Linked DNA regions of Homo sapiens: all the other regions are linked to region 2. Evidence: promoter capture Hi-C in 16 types of primary human blood cells and fetal thymus (Javierre and others, 2016). All regions are on one chromosome and are shown on one strand. The core of a region is centred on a gene start or on the middle of the fragment in contact, and the rest is flanking DNA. Distances in the headings are between cores, read along the strand shown. Region 1 has its middle 72 kb from the start of RIPK2. Region 2 holds the start of OSGIN2 (oxidative stress induced growth inhibitor family member 2). Region 3 overlaps RIPK2 (receptor interacting serine/threonine kinase 2).

Region 1 (4,596 bases), core at 1,735-4,234, 72 kb before region 2:
AGTGATCCACCAGCCTCGATCTCCCAAAGTGCTGGGATTACAAGCGTGAGCCACCGCACCCAGCTCCATTAGTTTTTGAGTTTGTAATCTTAATTACAGTATAGTCATATAAACATTAGTTTTTCTTCATGAAATAACTGTGATTGAAAGTCGTTTCTTCCCCTGACTATACACTATGCTTTCAGGTTATACTTGTGTTTTGCTGTTGTTGTTCTTGCTGCTGATGCTTTATGGATTTCAAAATGACGGAAAAGGAAAACAGCATAGGGAAGCTGATCCTCTTCCACACCCAGAGGGCCATTCTGCTGCCTCTCTTCCAGACACAAAAGGAGACAGAGCAGACATTCATGTGGCTGAATTCCTAATTTTCCATTATAGCTGCCAGCATGTGTGAAAACAAGCATAAAAACCAAAGACTTACCTTAATCTTCATTTCAGTCTATTTGGCATTTCTTGCACTTCCAAGTCTGAGGGATGAGTTATCTACCACAGCTAGGAAAATTTATCTCTATGCATTTACATTTGAACATTTTTACCAACTAAATAAAAGATAGATTGCTCTTAACTACTGCAAAAAGATGATTACTTTTTTCTAATATATGACTAAAATTTCTGCCCTATCTAGTTTTTTACATAGAAAGGTTAATTTCTATGAATCATTGCAAAGATAAAAATAAATTTTGATTAAAAATATTTATTCAATGGAAATACTATAAAGGGAGGATTTTAATATTGTTTCTACTGATGTAACTTGTCTTAATGGAAAACATCAGTGGATCATGGCTTTGGGAATCTCAGACTCATAATAATTACCACCTGTTTTGTGTTTGCAACGTGCCAGACACGGTAGTAGAGACCAGGATTTCAGAAATAAGTTAGATGTAATTCTGTCCCCAAATAATTTATGCCTAATAATAAAAACAGGTTTATGTCCACTTTGGATGAAATGAGTTGCTCTCATTCTGTTGCTCAGGCTGAAGTGCAGTGGCACAATCTCATCTCACTGCAATCTCATTGTTCCAGGTTCAAGTGATTCTTGTGCCTCACCCTCCCGAATAGTTGGGATTATAGATGTGCACCAACACACCCACTAATTTTTGTATTTTTAGTAGAGACAAGGTCTTGCCATGTTGGCCAGGCTGGTCTCAAACTCCTGGCCTCACGTGATCCACCCACCTCAGCCTCCCAAAGTGCTGGGATTACAGTCATGAGCCACTGTGCCCAGCTGGAAGCCAAGATTTTAATGCAAAATAAGAATTATCTAGGGTGAAGCTACAATATTGTGAAGGGAGTACAGAGCTGGCTTGAGATTAGAAAGGTTTTCTAGAGAGGTCACCCTCTCTAGAGTCAGTTTCAAAGTTGGGTAATACCAAGTGATTAACAAATACATCAACAGTTAAGGGCAGTTTAGGTGAACAGACTATGTGCAGATCATCTAACATAGTCACTGAAGATTAAGTAAGAATAAGAAATAGGCCTTGCTAAGCACTATAGGGAGGGAAGACAACCTAACCGATAATTATGTTAAGTATTATAACAGAAGCGAGCACAATGTCCAAAAACTGCATAGAGGCGGGTATTTCACTCAGCTCTGCAGATCAGAAAGGCTTCCCAGAACAGTAATGCTTTAGCTGAATCTTAATGAATAAGGATTTTTCCTGTGGTCAGAGAAGTGGGAAGGAAAGGACAGTTAAGGAGAGATTATACAGAAGATATTGGAAATGGAATGGATAATTTGTGCTCAGTCATTCGGCACTCACTATGTGCTAGACACTGGATGTTATCACAAGATGGGGTGGAGATTGATCTTGGACAAGACATACAGCAGCCAGATCATCTTTTTAAAAAGTAAATCACATCATTTTACTCTCCTATTCAACAACCTCCAAAGTGTGCTCCCCTTGCAAGCATAATAACTATTGTGGGTTCTTAGCATGACCCACACTGTCCAATATGATCAGTTCCCAAAAAATTTCGACAAGCTCACCTCCTGCCACATGCACTTACTCCCTCTGGCATTTTTTCTGTTTTGTAGGACAAACCTTTGGCTTCCCCAGGGGATTTTCTCCCTCCACCTGGAATGCTCATTCCTCATCATTTAGGTCTTAGCTCAGATGCTTTCAGAAGCCTTTCATTATCACCATATGAGAGTAACCCTCTTCCCCCAACGCCCTGCCTTAGACAATCTCAGTCTCATCTCCCTGTTTTTCGTTGTTGTTTTTTTTTCCTTTTTTTTTTTTTTTTTTGAGATGGAGTTTCACTCTTGCCACCCAGGCTGGAGTGCAATGGCACCATCTTGGCTCACTTCAACCTCCACCTCCTAGGTTCAAGTGATTCTCGTACCTCAGCCTCCCAAGTAACTAGGATTGCAGGCACTCACCACCACGCCCAGCTAATTTTTTGTAATTTTAGTAGAGATGGGTTTCACCATGTTAACCAGGATAGTCTCAATCTCTTGACCTCGTGATCCACCCACCTCGGCCTCCCAAAGTGCTGGGATTACAGGTGTGAGCCACTCTTAGGCCCCATCTCCATTTTACTCTCATAGTATTTATTACAATCTTAAAATGCCCATTTCTTTGTGTTATCTGCCTCCTCCAACAATACTCCACAGAAACAGAGATCTTATTTGTCTCTTAGACACTGCTCTAGCTTCAGCATCTAGAAGACTTGGCAATTATCTATTGGCTAAATGAATAAATAATGACCTTGAGAGTGAGTAAGCTGAGGGATGTTCATGATCACGAGAAGTGAGATTAGTTTAAAGAGCTTTCCTGGGTAAGAGTAAGCTCAGAGTAGGAAACTGAAAGGCGGATTGATGAAGATATAAATAATAATCCATGAGGAACTACATTATAAAAGTTTCTTTAAAAAGATTCTTAACATAGTAAGCATGACTGTATACATTGTGAGTATACAAACCTGGAAATTTATACCAGTGAATTTAAAATTGCATCTCTATAACACCATAAATCAATTTATTGTTTTGGCAAAGTATGGTAGCTATGCTGTCTCTTCTGTTGGAAGACATCTTTCAACTCATTATCTATTATTCTTTTAGCTACTGATTCTATGCCAGGCTCTCAATTATAGGATTCATGTGCTTAAGGAAAATATAGCCTGAAAGACCAAATCCAATCAAAGTAGGTAAAATATATACTGTCTGAAATTGCCTCACCATATGGCTTGAGAATTTCTCAACTAGCATTTATTTATGCATTATTTGTATGGTTTTTTATTTTTAAAATTTCCTTTTTTTCTTTGTTCATACCGAGTCCTGCACGTCTTATTAATTTTTTAAATAAAAGAAATACCTATGAGAAAGAGGCCAGGCATGGTGGCTCACGCCTGTAATCCCAGCACTTTGGGAGGCTGAGGCAGGTGAGTCACCTGGTTTCAGAAGTTTGAGACCAGACTGGCCAACATGGGGAAACACCGTCTCTGCTAAAAAAAACACAAATATTAGCTGGGCATTGTGCTGCCACCTGTAATCCCAGCTACTCGAGAGGCTGAGGCAGGAGAATCACTTGAACCTGGGAGGCAGAGGTTGCAGTGAGCTGAGATCGCGTCACTGCATTCCAGCCTGGGTGACAGAGTGGGACTCCATCTCAAAAAGAAAAAAAAAATACCTATGAAAAACAAAGACAACTTTTTAAAAACCTACTCTTTATCAAACATACATACCTAGGAATTTATCGTAAGGATAAAATTTAACAGAATTGAAAAGATAAGTGTGGCAATGTTAACTTGTTAACTATACTCTTATTTGTAAGAATAAAAACAAACAATAACAAAAGAAACTATGCATCAACTTGGAGGAGAATTCCGTGGCTTATAAAAATGATATCCCAAAAAACATAGAAAAATATTTATGATTACATATCAAATGAAAATAGCAGAGCCTGACATGGTAGCCTGCGCCTAGGATCCCAGCTGTTTGTGAGGCTGAGGCAGAAGAAGCGATTGAGGCCAGGTGCAGTGGCTTACGCCTGTAATCCCAGCACTTTGGGAGGCCAAGGCGGGCAGATCACCTGAGGTCAGGAGTTCGAGACCAGCCTGGCCAACATGGTGAAACCCTGTCTCTACTAAAGATGTGAAATTATCTAGGCATAGTGGAGGATGCCTGTAATCCCAGCTACTTGGGAGGCTGAAGCAGGAGAATGGTGTGAACCTGGGAGGCGGAGCTTGCAGTGAGCCAAGATAGATCGCGCCACTGCACTCCAGCCTGGGTGAGAGAGAGAGACTCCGTCTCAAAAAAAAAAAAAAATTGATTGAGCCCAGGAGTTTTTGAGTCTGCGGTGAGAGCTATAATCATTCAACTGCGCTCCAGCCCAAGTGACAGAGCAACACCTCGTCTCTTAAAAAGAAGAAAGAGAAAATAAGAGAATACAAAATAACATTAGTAGTATAGCATGTTGGGTCAAAAACAGATTTTTGGAATATGACAATCCTGATCCAAATCACATTTAGTTACTTAGGAACTATGTGACTTTGGGCATGTTCCTTATCCTTACTAAGGCTCTGTTTTCTCATTTGTAAACTAAGAATACCAATAGCACTAATTCTATCACATAGGAACAATGCTTTTGTTAACTG
Region 2 (4,930 bases), core at 2,162-4,661:
CTTCTGCACCGCAAAGGAAACAATCAACAAAGAGACAATCCACAGAATGGGAATAAAATATTTGCAAACTATCCATCTGACAAGGGATTAATAACCAGTATATATAAGGAGCATGAACAACTTAATAGGAAAAATTATAATAATCTGAGTTTAAAAAGGACAAAAGGGCCAGGCACCATGGTTCCCACCTGTAATCCCAGCACTTTGGGAGGCCAAGGCAGGAGGATCACTTGAGGCCAGGAGTTCAAGACCAGCCTGGGCAACATGGGCAGGCTGTTTTTTTGTAGAAACCCCATCTCTACAAAAAAAAAAAAAAGAAAAAAAAATTAAAAGAAAATTTAGCTAGGTGTGGTGGTGCACACCTCTAGTCCCAGCTACTCAGGAGGCTGAAGTGGGGGGATTACTTGAGCCCAGGAGTTCGAAGCTTCAGTGAGCTAGATCAAACCACTGCATTCCAGCCTGGATGACAGAGCAAGAACCTATCTCTCAAAAAAAAAAAAAATTTAAAATGGGCAAAAGATGTGAATAGACATTTACCAAAAGAAGGCATACAAATGACAAATAAGTATATGAAAAGGTGCTCAACATCACTCATCATCAGAGAAATGCAAATCAAAACTACAATGAGATATCATTTCATCATAATTAAAATGGCCTATATCCAAAAGACAGGCAATAACAAATGCTGATGAGGATGTGGAGAAAAGAGAACCCTTGTACACTGTTGGTGGGAATGTAAATTAGTACAGCCACTACGGAGAATAGTTTGGATATTCCTCAAAAAGCTAAAAATAGAGCTACCACATGATCCAGCAATGCCACTGATAGGTATATACCCCAAAGAAAGGAAATCAGTATATCCTAAGATATACTTGCACTCCCATGTTTATTGCAGCACTGTTCACAACAGCCAAGATTTGGAAACAACCTAAGTGTCCATCAATAGACAAATAAAGAAAATGTGGTTTATGTACACAACGTAGTAGCATTCAGCCATAAAAATGAATGAGATCCTGTTATTTTCAACAAAATGGATGCAACTGATGTCACTACTTTAAGTGAAATAGGCCAGGTACAGAATGACAAACTCTGCATGTTCTCACTTATTTGTGGGAGCTAAAAATTAAAACAACGGAACTAACAGAGAATAGAATGATGGTTACAAGGCTGGGCAGGGTAGTGGGGAATTAAGGGGCAGAGTGGGGATGGTTAATAGGTACAAAAGTATAGACAGAATTAGATCTAGTATTTGACAGCACGAGAGTGACTAGTCAACGATAATTCATTGAACATTTTAAAATAACTAAGTATAATTAGATTGTTTGTAGCACAAAGAAAGGATAAATATTTGAGGTGATGGATACTCCATGTACCCTGATGTGATTATTACTTATTGTATGCCTGTATCAAAATCTCATGTACCCCATAAATATATATACCATGTACTCACAAAAAATAAAAATTAAAAATTAAAAGAATTATCTGGATTGGACTGGCATAGCTTTCAGGAATTTATATGTTTATTTTTAATTTTTTTGGTTACATAGTAGGTGTATATATTTAAAAATACGGAACGCTTCACGAATTTGCGTGTTATCCTTGGGAAGGGGCCATGCTAATCTTTATATTATTCTAATTTTAGTATATGTGCTGCAGAATTAAGCACTGCTTTTAGGAATGTAGGTACTTTATTTATTTATTTTTGAGACGGAGTCTCGCTCTGTCGCCCAGGCTGGAGTGCAGTGGCGCGATCTTAGCTCACTGCAAGCTCCGCCTCCCGGGTTCACGCCATTCACCATGGTCTCGATCTCCTGACCTCGTGATCTGCCCGTCTCGGCCTCCCAAAGTGCTGGGATAACAAGCGTGAGCCACCGCGCCCGGCCAGGTACTTTATTATTATTTTTTGATACGGAGTCTCACTCTTTGGCCCAGGCTGAGTGCAGTGGCGCGATCTCAGCTCACTGCAACCTCCGCCTCCCGGTTTCAAGCGATTCTCCTGCATCAGGCTCTTGAGTAGCTGGGATTACAGGCGCGTGCCACCACGCCCGGGGCTAGGTTTTGTATTTTTAGTAGAAACGGGTTTCACCATGTTGGTCAGGCTGGTCTGGAACTTCTGACCTCAGGTGATCCGTCCGCCTCGGCCTTCCAAAAGGAATTTAGGTACTTTAAAATGCTGTTATGTATGTTAACGGAAAAGTAACTACATGCTTCATTTTCAGAACCAACATTCAAATGAAATGAACGTGTCAAATCGACAAAAGCTCAAAAAAGAGAAAAACATATAATACTTAAAAGTGGTTAATATACTCTTAGATTGCATAACTCTGGGGCAGTCTGAGTCCTATGATTTTCTTTTAAGACCCCAAGACTCTAAAATACCTGCTCATCACAAGTTTGTTCAGTGACAACATTCAGTAAAACTTAACATTTGTTTTACAAAATTATGTTGAAAGATATAAACATAAACGTATATTTGAAGCACAAAAATAATTACGGCTTTTTTTGGAAGCGGAGTTAGACATTTCCGTAGAAAAGTAGATGCAATCAATCTCTCCTGATTTTTGTCCTCCCCACCTTTAATTTTTGACAAACCGAATAACGACACTCACTATTGAGTACTTTTCTAACTCCCTATTGCATCACAAACGCCCGCAGGGGCTTAAAAAGCAGCAGGGGTTCCTGCCCTTCCCCACACTGGCCGGTGTGGTCTGGGGCGGGCCTGATGAGCACCTGGATTTTCACCCGGCGTGCTGGTAATTCCTACACTTGTGGGTGTTTGAGAGACATGAAGAGGGGAGGATGACCTCTTCCCGGAAGCGGGACTTCCATAAAAGAAGCGTGGTGGGCGGGTCCCGGGCACCTGTGGTTTGGTGAGTCCTCCAGGTAACTGTGATGCGGGGGTCAGCGGGAGAGGCACCCGGAAGCTCCCGGCGTCTGCACCCCGGCAGCGCGAGGAAATGCCCAAAGGTGGGTTCTCAGGCGTGGGAAGCTCGACCCTTCCCGGGGTCCTCGGCGAAGTGGCCGAGGCCGCGCCTTACGCAGGGAACTCCGCCGGGCCATCTGGGTGGCCCGAGTTCGCAGCAGCTTCTCTTCCGCTCGTCCCTCGGCCCTCTCGACGCGCACCCACCGGCCTCACCAAGTCGCACGCAGAGGGGCGGCGGGGCGCTGACCGAGGTCTAGGTCTCGATTGCCGCCGGTCGAGCCGCGCAGTTTGCCTGCAGACCTCGGTCCCCTGCCCGCGCAGCCTCGGCTCCATCAGGCCCGGCCCCTCGCCCGGGCCGTGGCTCCACCAATCGCAGACTTCGCCCGCCGCAGCCGCACCTGCGAGGAGGGGCCCGCGCGCCGCTGCAGCCGCCGTCGCAGCGTCCCCGCCCCGCTCCGCCCCTATCGCGGCGCCCCGAGATCACCCGCCTCCGGCGCCTGGCTCCCTGCAGGCGAGGAGCGGAAGCCGCTATCTGGAGGCGGACTCCGGCGCCACAGAGCCGGGGCAGCCGCGGCAACGGCGAGGCGCGAGGCAGGGGCGCCCGGCAGACCCCGCGACCCCGAGCCAGCGGGCGCCCCGAGCGGGCAGCCTCGCCGGGGGAGGCGGAGGCGGCCACGGCGGCCGCGCTCGGGCGCCCCTCGCGCAGCGCTCCATGCCCGTGTGGTGCTGCCGCTGCTCCCTGGCCGGTCATTTCAGGTGACTTCCTCGCCGGGGATGGGAGGGGAGCAGGCGGGGATGCCGCGCTCTCGAGCTTTTTGGCCTGGCCCGGGCCGGGACCGGGGTGGAGGGCGAGCGCCTGGACCGCAGCGTCCTCCCGCCTCGGCCGTCCTGCCTGGCGTGGGGGTGGGGTGGGGTGCGGTGTGGTGGGGTCCTTGCTCCGGGGAGCCCTGCGCTGTTCCCTTTTCTCGCTCTGGACCGCGCGGGTCACGGGACTGCGGGATCGGCTAGGCCGGACTGAGTCGGTTACGGCGAGCTGAGACTTCCCAGTAGTGCAAAGTTTTAGTGAAGGGGGTTCTACGAAGTGCCTGCCTCCCTAAAAAAAAATTATTTCTTAAAAAGTCTTCTAAATAATGTAATGAGTGGAAGGAAGGTAGGGAACTACATTTCAGTGTCATCTAATCACAAATAGATTCTGCCTTGTTAAGATGTTAGCCATGGTAAGACGTGTGTGTTGTAGAAATTTAAAGAATGAGGCGGTTTTACAATCACCTTATGGGGAAAGGTTTTAGGGGTGATAAAATATAATACATTTCTAAAATAAAAGTATGTTTTCTAGATCTAGCACATTTGGTCAACACCTCAGTCATTGGTGGAAAGACCAGACACTAGAAACTGATTTTAACCCTGGGGTGAAGAATGGTTAAGCATAGGGAATACTTTAGTACCTTGCTTTACATATACTGATGTTCCAGAATAATTCTATGTAAGACTTCTTCCCTGGTAAAATATGAAATTTTGATCAAGCCTTCCTAAATAGTGGGTTTCATACAATTTAGGTAACCCATGAACTTGGATGGAAAGAAAGGTATATCATTTCACTAAATTTTAAAAACTAATATTCAGTTAAAATATAAGCAACAAATCACAGTAGTATCTGTGACTGTCATCAGTAGAGATCATAAAATATGTTTATATCACATTGCAGTTAATATAGAAATACTGTTTATACTTATTCAAAATTATAGTAACACATCACTGAATTTATTGAATGCAACAGAGAAGCACATATATATATCGCGTTTACTTTTTATGACTGTTTTAATAGAATTAGTTTTCTTGTAAATCCTGTGTATATTTAAGAACAGTATTCAGAGAAGAGGTTAAGAAGCGTCATCCTATAGTAAAAGAGATGTAAGGCATAGAGAAAGTTTGGAACTTCTTTTGTAACAGCGATAATCCAAGCTTGTCTAACCTCTCAGTGAGTTTAGAATGAGTCTCTAGGTTGTG
Region 3 (4,705 bases), core at 651-3,150, 110 kb before region 2:
TAGTGGAAACTAAAGACATTGGAGCCTACCTTCTGTCTGCTCAGATGTTGACATGTTAGCCAATAGGAATTTCTAAGGAGTATTCTACTTCTAATGAAGATGTTGTATTTTGTAGGAAAAGCTCAAGACTGTTATTTTATGAAGCTGCATCACTGTCCTGGAAATCACAGTTGGGATAGCACCATTTCTGGATCTCAAAGGGCTGCATTCTGTGATCACAAGACCACTCCATGCTCTTCAGCAATAATAAATCCACTCTCAACTGCAGGAAACTCAGGTAAATATTTACTGTGAAACACCTTGTAAGTGATGCCATTGACCTTACATATCTGTGTTCAGTGGATTTACCATACAATGAGGTTTGTCTTTATTTCCTCAATATGATAAATACATACCTTCTTAAGTAGGAAAACAAATCCCAGGAGATGGGAATGATGACATGGCCCAAATGGTATTCTATGAACATCTAAATAGGGAGGCAGTGCTAAGAGGAGGTATTAACATATTACTAATGGTAAAGTTATTTTTGTTTATTTAAAAAATTTGCAGGTATCTTTTATATTTGAAATAAAATGGACATCAAACAAAACTGAACAAATCCCAGAAGATGGAAATGATGACATAAAGTGGTTTTTGCCCCGTGATTTATACCATAGGAAAAGGCAATGCCTTTTCTGGGGAGTGAGGGGGAGATAACCCAAATCTCTGAATGTTTCCTGAAAAATGACACCATTCCCCAAAGTGTTGGTGTTCCATATTGGCACAATCATAGGAAAATTATGTTTTATGCTTTATTTATTTTTCATGGAATTTTACTTATTGCTATGTATCTGTCCTCACCTTTTAAATTATTCATTCCTTGTTCTTTTTCAGAACGTCTGCAGCCTGGTATAGCCCAGCAGTGGATCCAGAGCAAAAGGGAAGACATTGTGAACCAAATGACAGAAGCCTGCCTTAACCAGTCGCTAGATGCCCTTCTGTCCAGGGACTTGATCATGAAAGAGGACTATGAACTTGTTAGTACCAAGCCTACAAGGACCTCAAAAGTCAGACAATTACTAGACACTACTGACATCCAAGGAGAAGAATTTGCCAAAGTTATAGTACAAAAATTGAAAGATAACAAACAAATGGGTCTTCAGCCTTACCCGGAAATACTTGTGGTTTCTAGATCACCATCTTTAAATTTACTTCAAAATAAAAGCATGTAAGTGACTGTTTTTCAAGAAGAAATGTGTTTCATAAAAGGATATTTATATCTCTGTTGCTTTGACTTTTTTTATATAAAATCCGTGAGTATTAAAGCTTTATTGAAGGTTCTTTGGGTAAATATTAGTCTCCCTCCATGACACTGCAGTATTTTTTTTAATTAATACAAGTAAAAAGTTTGAATTTTGCTACATAGTTCAATTTTTATGTCTCTTTTGTTAACAGAAACCACTTTTAAAGGATAGTAATTATTCTTGTTTATAACAGTGCCTTAAGGTATGATGTATTTCTGATGGAAGCCATTTTCACATTCATGTTCTTCATGGATTATTTGTTACTTGTCTAAGATGCAATTTGATTTTATGAAGTATATACCCTTTACCCACCAGAGACAGTACAGAATCCCTGCCCTAAAATCCCAGGCTTAATTGCCCTACAAAGGGTTATTAATTTAAAACTCCATTATTAGGATTACATTTTAAAGTTTTATTTATGAATTCCCTTTAAAAATGATATTTCAAAGGTAAAACAATACAATATAAAGAAAAAAATAAATATATTAATACCGGCTTCCTGTCCCCATTTTTAACCTCAGCCTTCCCTACTGTCACCAACAACCAAGCTAAATAAAGTCAACAGCCTGATGTGTATCTTTCTGTCCCTTTCTTCCTGCTTATATTTAGAACATATGCTCATTTGAGAAAGGATCTTTCTGCATATTATTATTATAATTATACATCATACTGCAACCTGCTTTTTGCATTTAATAGTACAGCCTTCCAGATCAGATATGGCTCTAACTTACTCTTTTTACTTGCTGCCTAATACCCACAGTTTTTATTTTCTTAACTTGTCCATATCAAATTTAGCCCAAACAATAAAAGTACGGTGTGAGCACTTTTTTGGTTAATAGGTTATATTACTATAGGAGAACTTACAAGGAATAATAGCCCTTTTCTGAAACTGCGTAGCGAAGTCAGCAGAAAGTGAGATACAGAATAAATTTGAAAAGATGAACTTTCAAGAAGCAACAGACCCACAACCTGAAAAGTTTGAATAAAAGAAATTAGATGCCATTGAGGTAATTAAATATTAATTAGAAATATAAGCATTTTAATCTCCATTTTAGAGCTTGACATTAACTTGTACCTCTTACTGTGCCTTTCAGAAATATGGAAATTAATAGGGAAAAGTGAAAACTAAACACATGAGTTATCTATTAAATTTTAAAAAGCATTAAGATGCAAATTTTATTTGTGAAGTAATAAATAGAGAAAATTATTTTGGAAGCTTTCCCTTTTCTCTATACATACTCTAAAAAGAAATTATTTTGACTATTGATGGCCTCAAATTGATGTTTATACTGATTTCATGAGGTATATCTGGATTGATAAAATGAACTTTGCCTTGTTTTTTATTCTCTGCAAAGATCTAAAAACTCATAGTTTGTGTGCTTTATGGCTATGTGCTTACAGTCACTTTCTCCCACAATTTTCTGTATGGAAGACACGTGTAGTCATCCGTCATCACAGCTCTGCAAACTTTTTCTGCGTAAATAATAACATGTTGATAAGTAAGAAGATGTTGTCAGGGATTAAGATGAATCTGCAGTGAGCTCTCATCATCTCTTCATGGGATTGTTACAATCTCAGCAGTTGGTTTTTATTATAACCCCTATTTAGTAACTGCTACTTAGAGGAAGATGAGACAGATTATGCTGAGTATGACTAGTTAGTGTAGAACAGGGTCTGGCATAGAGTAGGCACTTTTTGAATAACTCTTTAATGAATAGTGCAATGGAATGAAAACATAGAGAAGGGGAGATGTTTCCTTTAAATCTTATTTCCAAAAATGTAGTGCAAGCACAGCTAGTAGTAAGTGGGATTATTTTAGGTCATATGTAGGCTCACCACTAAATGGCATTTGAGTCACTTAGTAAAGGACATTCTTTTCCGTTCTTTTTTGAGCCTTATAATTAAATAAAGGAGAATATCTCAATTTTTTTGCTAACATCTTTTTATCCCCCTCGTTAACAAAATGAGAATAGGCTTTAGGCTCAGAACTTCAGAGACTATTTACCAAGAATTTTATGGTTTTTTTTGTTGCATTCTATTTGAAATTTATACTTCTACATATGACAAGTAATAGTTTTCTGTTTATACTAAAGTTTTATTACATAATATTTAAATAAAGACAATTTAAGTACTATTAAGTAAATTATAATATAGATAGGACATGAATGGGCCAGCAATCATAGAAGTAGTAAGAAAATGACAGATTAAAATTCAGTCACTCCAGGAAGGGACCTAGTAATTTATTTTTTAACTAGCTAGTACTAGATAATGCTAGAGATGTCATTCCTTGCAGTGCATTTTAAGACAGTGCTACCCAGAAGTACAGTGCACAGACTGGCTACATTTAGCATCACCTATAGCATGTTAGAAATGAAACTTCATGGCTCCTATCTCAGACCGACTGATTCAGTCTCTGGGGGTGAGGTCTAGGAATCTGTTTTAACAAACTCTCCAAGCGATTTTTACTCACGGTAAAGTTCAAGACCCTTTATTTTAAGAAACACTATAGATTTGTGCATAAAATAATTTCTCTCTAGGTTCACAGATGTGTTTTCATGAACTCTGATTGCCACGTGCCTTCAGAATGTTCACTCTCTGAACTGACGTTTGATTACAAAATTTTACTTTTGTTTTGCATCCAATTTGAATTCTCAAAACAATTTTAATCATGCTTTGAATTTTGGAAAGATAGCTTCACTTAAACATGAAAATCAGATCACTATAGTAGAATCTACAACTCAGTTCTTTAGGGAAGAACTTCAGAAGGGGCAAACACTTGAGTTATGACAGCAGTAGAGCTGAGCCGATATGAGGATCAATACAAGAAGCAAGACTAAATTGTGCTGAAAGTTATACTAAAGAAATTTGCATGACTGTGAAAGATTTGGGTGTTGGCAGCAGTTGTGTCAAGCAGTGGGGGCTGTTTTTTATTTCTCTCTACCATTAATCTGCCTACCCTCAGCCCCTTCAAATACTTAATTTATGAAGAAAAAAACATGGCCAACGGGGAGAGAAGGAAAATCAATAAACGTTCATGTTTAGCCATTCTCACAAACATAAGTTTCAGCCTGGTGCGGCGGCTCACGCCTGTAATCCGAGCACTTTAGGAGGCCGAGGCGGGTGGATCACCTGAGGTCAGGAGTTTGAGACCAGCCTAGCCAACATGGCGAAACCCCTTCTCTACTAAAAATACAGAAATTAGCTGGGCATGGTGGCAGGCGCCTGTAATCTCAGCTACTTGGGAGGCTGAGGCAGGACAATCACTTGAACCTGGGAGGCAGAGGTTGCAGTGAGCCGTGATCGCACCACTGCATTCTAGCCTGCGAGACAAGAGCGAAATTCCATCTCAACAACAACAACAAAAGAAAGTTAGTAATGTGTTTCTTCAAAATTATACCTCCTATCTCCCACACAGCCTAGTT

The links. The method cuts DNA at HindIII sites, captures the fragments that hold promoters and counts their contacts. A CHiCAGO score of 5 or more calls a contact.
Region 1: a contact is called between a fragment that was not itself captured here and the fragment with the promoter of OSGIN2 in region 2, in 1 of 17 cell types (monocytes). The highest score is 5.1, in monocytes.
Region 3: a contact is called between a fragment that was not itself captured here and the fragment with the promoter of OSGIN2 in region 2, in 4 of 17 cell types (monocytes, M0 macrophages, M1 macrophages and 1 more). The highest score is 10.8, in monocytes.

The regions. Positions count from the first base shown.
Region 1 is chr8:89,827,255-89,831,850 of GRCh38, forward strand. No RefSeq gene overlaps it. Among named protein-coding and RNA genes, the nearest start is that of RIPK2, 72 kb to the left of the region's middle. The HindIII fragment of the contact is 6,814 bases long and covers 1-4,596 here.
Region 2 is chr8:89,899,159-89,904,088 of GRCh38, forward strand. It overlaps OSGIN2 (oxidative stress induced growth inhibitor family member 2), which reads left to right and starts at 3,412. Exons shown (of 6, transcript NM_001126111.3): 1 at 3,412-3,679. The coding sequence starts at 3,636. LOC124901974 (a long non-coding RNA gene) reads right to left here and starts at 3,248. Exons shown (of 2, transcript XR_007061001.1): 1 at 2,861-3,248; 2 at 1-298. It also overlaps the pseudogene RNU6-925P. RefSeq lists enhancers at 1,291-2,056, 2,057-2,822 and silencers at 3,116-3,414, 3,164-3,503, 3,534-3,983. The HindIII fragment of the contact is 4,461 bases long and covers 423-4,883 here.
Region 3 is chr8:89,789,206-89,793,910 of GRCh38, forward strand. It overlaps RIPK2 (receptor interacting serine/threonine kinase 2), which reads left to right. Exons shown (of 11, transcript NM_003821.6): 10 at 116-277; 11 at 874-1,859. The coding sequence ends at 1,211. Among named protein-coding and RNA genes, the nearest start is that of RIPK2, 34 kb to the left of the region's middle. RefSeq lists a silencer at 1,003-1,203. The HindIII fragment of the contact is 1,194 bases long and covers 1,304-2,497 here.